Regions from separate parts of the Homo sapiens genome. Here region 1 is linked to region 2. The links are contacts of gene promoters, found by promoter capture Hi-C in blood cells and fetal thymus (Javierre and others, 2016). All regions are on one chromosome and are shown on one strand. Each heading gives the region's core, a stretch centred on a gene start or on the middle of the fragment in contact. The rest is flanking DNA. Distances are from core to core; before and after follow the strand shown. Region 1 overlaps PJA2 (praja ring finger ubiquitin ligase 2). Region 2 holds the start of FBXL17 (F-box and leucine rich repeat protein 17).

The links. The method cuts DNA at HindIII sites, captures the fragments that hold promoters and counts their contacts. A CHiCAGO score of 5 or more calls a contact.
Region 1: a fragment that was not itself captured here is called in contact with the fragment with the promoter of FBXL17 in region 2 in 2 of 17 cell types (naive CD8 T cells and total B cells); the score reaches 6.3 in naive CD8 T cells.

The regions. Positions count from the first base shown.
Region 1 is chr5:109,364,127-109,366,826 of GRCh38, reverse strand. The region is part of intron 5 of PJA2 (praja ring finger ubiquitin ligase 2); the gene reads left to right. Among named protein-coding and RNA genes, the nearest start is that of PJA2, 44 kb to the left of the region's middle. The HindIII fragment of the contact is 986 bases long and covers 839-1,824 here.
Region 2 is chr5:108,380,828-108,383,527 of GRCh38, reverse strand. It overlaps FBXL17 (F-box and leucine rich repeat protein 17), which reads left to right and starts at 1,430. Exons shown (of 9, transcript NM_001163315.3): 1 at 1,430-2,700. The coding sequence starts at 1,837. RefSeq lists an enhancer at 1,060-1,179 and silencers at 1,280-1,529, 1,730-2,479, 2,500-2,579. The HindIII fragment of the contact is 13,285 bases long and covers 1-2,700 here.

The DNA of each region.
Region 1 (2,700 bases), core at 82-2,581, 980 kb before region 2:
TTTAATCACTGTTAGTTTAGTTTACTAAGTATAAATTATTCATATGTCATTTGTGTTAGCAGTTATTCACTCAGCAAATATTTATTGAGCATTTACTTTGTGCCAGGCATTGTGTTGGATATTGGCGTTATATCAGTAAACAAAGACAAATAACATTCCTTCATGAAGCTTACATTGTAGTAGGAAAGGCAGATGATAACCAAGATACAAACCCAGTACATTACACATGTGATGATTACTGTGAAGGGAATAAAACAGTGATGTGAAAGAAGGTAAATGATGAAGATATTAAAGTGGTCAGGGATGACGTCTCTTTAGAATTGACTTTTGAGCTGAGTTCTTAAAGATGAGAATTAGGGTTCAGAAAGAACTTTCTAAGCAAAAGAAAAAGCAAGAGCAGAGATATTGAATGTTGGTAATTTAAGAAGCCCAGTTTTTCAAAAATTAGTCTTTTACATTACTGTAGTGCCAAATTATGGTTTTGCTCACACATTTTTCATCCTTAGACTTGCTCTTAGAGCTAGCAGCCTTGTTTTGATGAATCTATGATTACATATTTATTTTCTCTAACCTGGATTTTATTTTCTAACAGTGATTCAGACTATTTAGTAAGGTAGTTTTTGTATTACCATGATGTGTGTAGATCACAAGTCTCTTTCCAATTAATATATTTTGCATTCAGAATGATGTATTTCATTCAGAATGATGTAGTACACCAAATGTCAATTGCATAATTATGACAACCTAATTAAATCTAGCCCAAAAAAAGTTCTAATATCTGGGATGGAACAGAAAGAAGAATAAAAAATGGGAATAAATTAGTACATTTTCAAAAGCTTGAGTTGTCTAGATAGACACCAATAGAGCTTTGACCAAAGGGAGAAAATAACCTGTACTTTGGTTGAAATTGAGAAAACCTTCAAGGTTTTAAAATTTGTTAAGCATCTGCTAAACATCTGTTAGTTTTAGCTATCTTTAGGCTAAATATACAAACAACTGTGTGACTCCTTAATAATTGGTCACATGACTCATGAAACTAAAAAAATTCTTTTCACTATTGTACTTTGCATAATTAAAGGGATGGTTTCTGAAATACCAGTAAGAGTGAATACAGATTTAATGACACAAGTTTGAGTGCTTTGGAAATATTTAATGAATTGCTAACAGTTTATTGCTTGGGTAGCTATTTCTGGTTGAACTTCTCTTGATAAACAGATGAAATTACAGTTGTTTTAAAAAAAAAAGGATTCATACAACAATAAAAAGTGAGTTTAGACAGTATGGAAAGACCAATTAAAAACCATTATAACCAGCTTCCTTTTTGAACTTCTAAAGATCTTCCGTACACATAAAAGCATATATGTGTACACGTTCCATTTCATTTTTTATGCAACCGGTAGCACATTGTGTAGACATATGTGTACACCTTGGTTTCGTTATTTGTTTTGTTTATAGATCTGTTTTTTAGATTGTTCCATATTCATATAGATTTCCTTTATTCATTTTAAGTCTGCATAGTTCTACCTTGTTTTGCTTAAAGTCACATATTCTAAGAAGCTCGTATAAAGTTAAGTCAGAACTTACTGTATACTACTACATGAGTATACCAGTTTCATTTGGTGGACAGTTTTGGCTATTGTGAGTAATGCTGAAGAAAAAATAAAAAACACATTGTACATGTTTAGGAGAAATAACTGGAAGCCGAACCACTAGGTCAGTGAGTGTGCATAAACCTAATCTATAGCTTTTGCCGGGTTTCTCTACAAAGAACTTAAATTAGTCACTTTCTTACCAACACTATATGAATTGCCTTTCTTCAAAGCTTTCTTCAGAGCTTCACCAACACACAGGGTATTATCAGAATTTTTTATTTTTGCTAATAGTTGAAACATATTTCAGTTGTTTTAATTTGCATTTTGCTTATTATAAATGAGGCAGAGCATCTCTTTATATATTTAAGGGCTATTTGAATTTCCTTTTCTGCTAATTATTATATCCTTTGCCTCCTTTCTGTTGATATATATTGATGTTTTTCTTACAGTTTTTTTTTTACATTTTAAGCTTCTATTGATTAAGGAAAAGCCCTTTGTCTCTCTTGTATTGTAGTTCACGTTTCTCAGTTTGAGTTTTGTGTCCAAATTTTGTGACTTCAGGGTTTTATATCATGCTTAGAATGACACTGAAATTTTTTTTTTTTTTTTTTTGAGACAGAGTCTCGCTCTGTCGCCCAGGCTGGAGTGCAGTGGCGGGATCTCGGCTCACTGCAAGCTCCGCCTCCCGGGTTCACGCCATTCTCCTGCCTCAGCCTCCCAAGTAGCTGGGACTACAGGCGCCCGCCACTACGCCCGGCTAATTTTTTGTATTTTTAGTAGAGACGGGGTTTCACCGTTTTAGCCGGGATGGTCTCGATCTCCTGACCTCGTGATCCGCCCGCCTCGGCCTCCCAAAGTGCTGGGATTACAGGCGTGAGCCACCGCGCCCGGCCGACACTGAAATTTTTATAAAATTTCCTCATGACTATTCTCGTACTCATTGTTTAAGTGAGGTGGGGGGTGCATATACACATGTACTTCAAAAAAGTATAGCTAAAGTTTATTTAAGGGATTTAACCTCCCTCCCTGCGGGCGAATACCCAGTTGTCCCAGTACATTTTGTTGATGAGTCCTTTTTTGTTTTTGTTTTTTGAGACACAGTCTCGCT
Region 2 (2,700 bases), core at 181-2,680:
TAACTGTCATTAGGCTCTGAAAGGATCCCTGAATGTGACAGACTTAAGATTGGTCATTTCTGACAAAAAGGCCAGAATTAACAATTGTTTGACAGCATGTTTGAGAGCAGGCTGGGTGGGGCTGGCCACTATAGTGGGAATAGCAATGTAGGTTCCAACAGTGGTCTTCTCCAAGCCACTGGGCCTTGAATATTGCAATACTTCTTCCTCAGTCAGCTCTCTCAAGTTATCCTTAGCAGATTTTTTTTTAAACACCTGCCACTTCTCTTCCACCCTTCAGCAGGTAACCAAGCTCTATCTGAAGCAAAACAGAAACCAACAGAAAGGAACTCTTTCACCTTCCTGCTAGAAACATCCACCTCTCTGTATCCGTCCTTTATCTACCTTTCCTCATTCTCTGTAATCACAATGAAGAAAGTATCCTTCCTAAAGCACTCTCCATTCCACCTTCTCCTCTTATTTCTCTCACTAGAGTGGCTCATTCCCATGGTATTTGCCTCCTCTAATTTTTCGCTTGTGAAAGCTAACCTCTCCGCACCAGGTACCGCTCTAGCAGCTGCCCTAGCTCTTTAGCCTCGATATAGTCAAACCTTCTAAAGGACTGCCTGCATAGCTGTTTCCTCTTTCTCATCTGGATCACCAACGTTTGTCATATAGCAGGCACTGCACCGTCATGTTTAAAATATACAACAGACGGCTAGACAGGATTCCGAGGGTGTAGACAATAAAGTGATCTACAGTTTGTAGCCTGGGTGTTGAATGGCTCACTGGGTGGGGAAGCTGTTATCTTTCTGCTGTGCACAGGTAATTTGATATATGCTTTCATTCTGAAATAAAGTTGTGGAAAGGCAGTAGTACGCAACAATTAAGAAAACACAAGTGGGTAAACAGTGGTGCCGCACAACCAATCAACCCCTCACATGACTTCGGTGCGCATCACCCAGGGGCCGCATCTGCCACTCTGCCCGAAGCGCGGTCAGCGCCCACACTGGCCCTTCCGGCGGAACCCGCCTCGCGGCTTCGAAGTGGCCTCGGTTTCCGAGTCAGGGGTGGTGACAGGGGTGGAAGGTGAGGGGAAGAGCCCAGCGGCTCCCGGCCAATGGCAGCTCTTGAACTTACACCTCGAGACGTCAGCGCGGCTGTGTAAACGGATGTCACACAGCTGGCTCGGAAGTGTCTCCTCCCGCCTCAGAAACGCGGCGCACGCCCAGCAGCTTCGGAAAAACCTTAGGCGGTGGGAGGGAGGGGCGTGCGCCGCACCCCGCAAGCCCAGAGCTCCGTGCCCTAGCCGGCCGGCTTCTTCCCGTAGTGCCGGTGTGACGGCCGTCCCGGGTGAGCAGCCGGGTGCCGGCGTCCCCGCCACGAGCGCGCCACCGCAACTGGCTCCGCCCCCTGCCGGAACGGGCCGCGCGCTCCTGCGGCTCCGAGCAGAGTCGCGGGTGCGCGCGCCGGCGGCGGATCCGCAGTTAAAATGGTCCGAGCGGGACCCGGCCTTTCCCCGGCCGCTCCGCTGACTGACTGAGCCGGCTGGCCGGGCCCGGACTGGTCGCCTAGCCGGCAGGCTCGCTCGCTCCCTCCCTCGCGTCCCCAAAGCTCGCGCCCATCGTTCTCCCGGCTTCCCTGGGCAAAGCATGTAGCCCCCGTCGGGCACTCCGGCGGCCCGCAGCTGACGCCCACCCCCCACCGTCGCGTGTGTGCCCGTGTGTGCGTGTGTGTGCGCAGGAAGGGCGACCCCTCCGGGGGCCGAGCCAGCGAGCGGCCTGCCCCGCTGCCGGGAGCCCGCCTCTCTGGGTCTCCCTCCCTCCCGTCCCGGTCCCCCTCCTCGGGGCCTTCTATATGGGCCACCTTCTCTCGAAGGAGCCGCGTAACCGCCCGAGCCAGAAGAGGCCTCGCTGTTGCAGTTGGTGCCGCCGCCGGCGCCCTCTCCTCAGGCTGCCCCGCCGGACCCCAGCCAAGGTGCCCCCTCAGCCGGCGGCGCCCCGGAGCCGGGACTGCTTCTTCCGCGGGCCCTGCATGCTCTGCTTCATCGTGCACAGTCCCGGCGCGCCCGCCCCCGCCGGCCCAGAGGAGGAGCCGCCGCTCTCGCCGCCGCCGCGGGACGGGGCCTACGCTGCCGCCTCCTCCTCTCAGCACCTGGCGCGGCGCTACGCGGCCCTGGCCGCCGAGGACTGCGCCGCTGCTGCCCGCCGCTTCCTGCTATCCTCGGCCGCCGCCGCCGCCGCCGCTGCCGCCTCGGCTTCGTCGCCCGCCTCCTGCTGCAAAGAGTTGGGGCTGGCTGCGGCCGCCGCCTGGGAGCAGCAGGGCCGAAGTCTCTTCCTGGCCAGCTTGGGGCCGGTGCGCTTCCTGGGGCCGCCCGCCGCCGTGCAGCTCTTCCGGGGGCCGACACCGTCACCGGCCGAGCTCCCTACGCCCCCCGAAATGGTGTGCAAGCGGAAGGGGGCCGGGGTCCCCGCCTGCACCCCCTGCAAGCAGCCCCGCTGCGGCGGCGGGGGCTGCGGCGGCGGCGGCGGCGGCGGTGGCGGGGGAGGGCCTGCGGGGGGAGGCGCTTCGCCGCCCCGGCCCCCCGACGCCGGCTGCTGCCAGGCCCCGGAGCAGCCCCCGCAGCCGCTCTGCCCTCCGCCCTCTTCTCCCACCTCCGAAGGTGCCCCCACCGAAGCTGGCGGGGACGCTGTCCGAGCCGGGGGCACCGCCCCCTTGTCC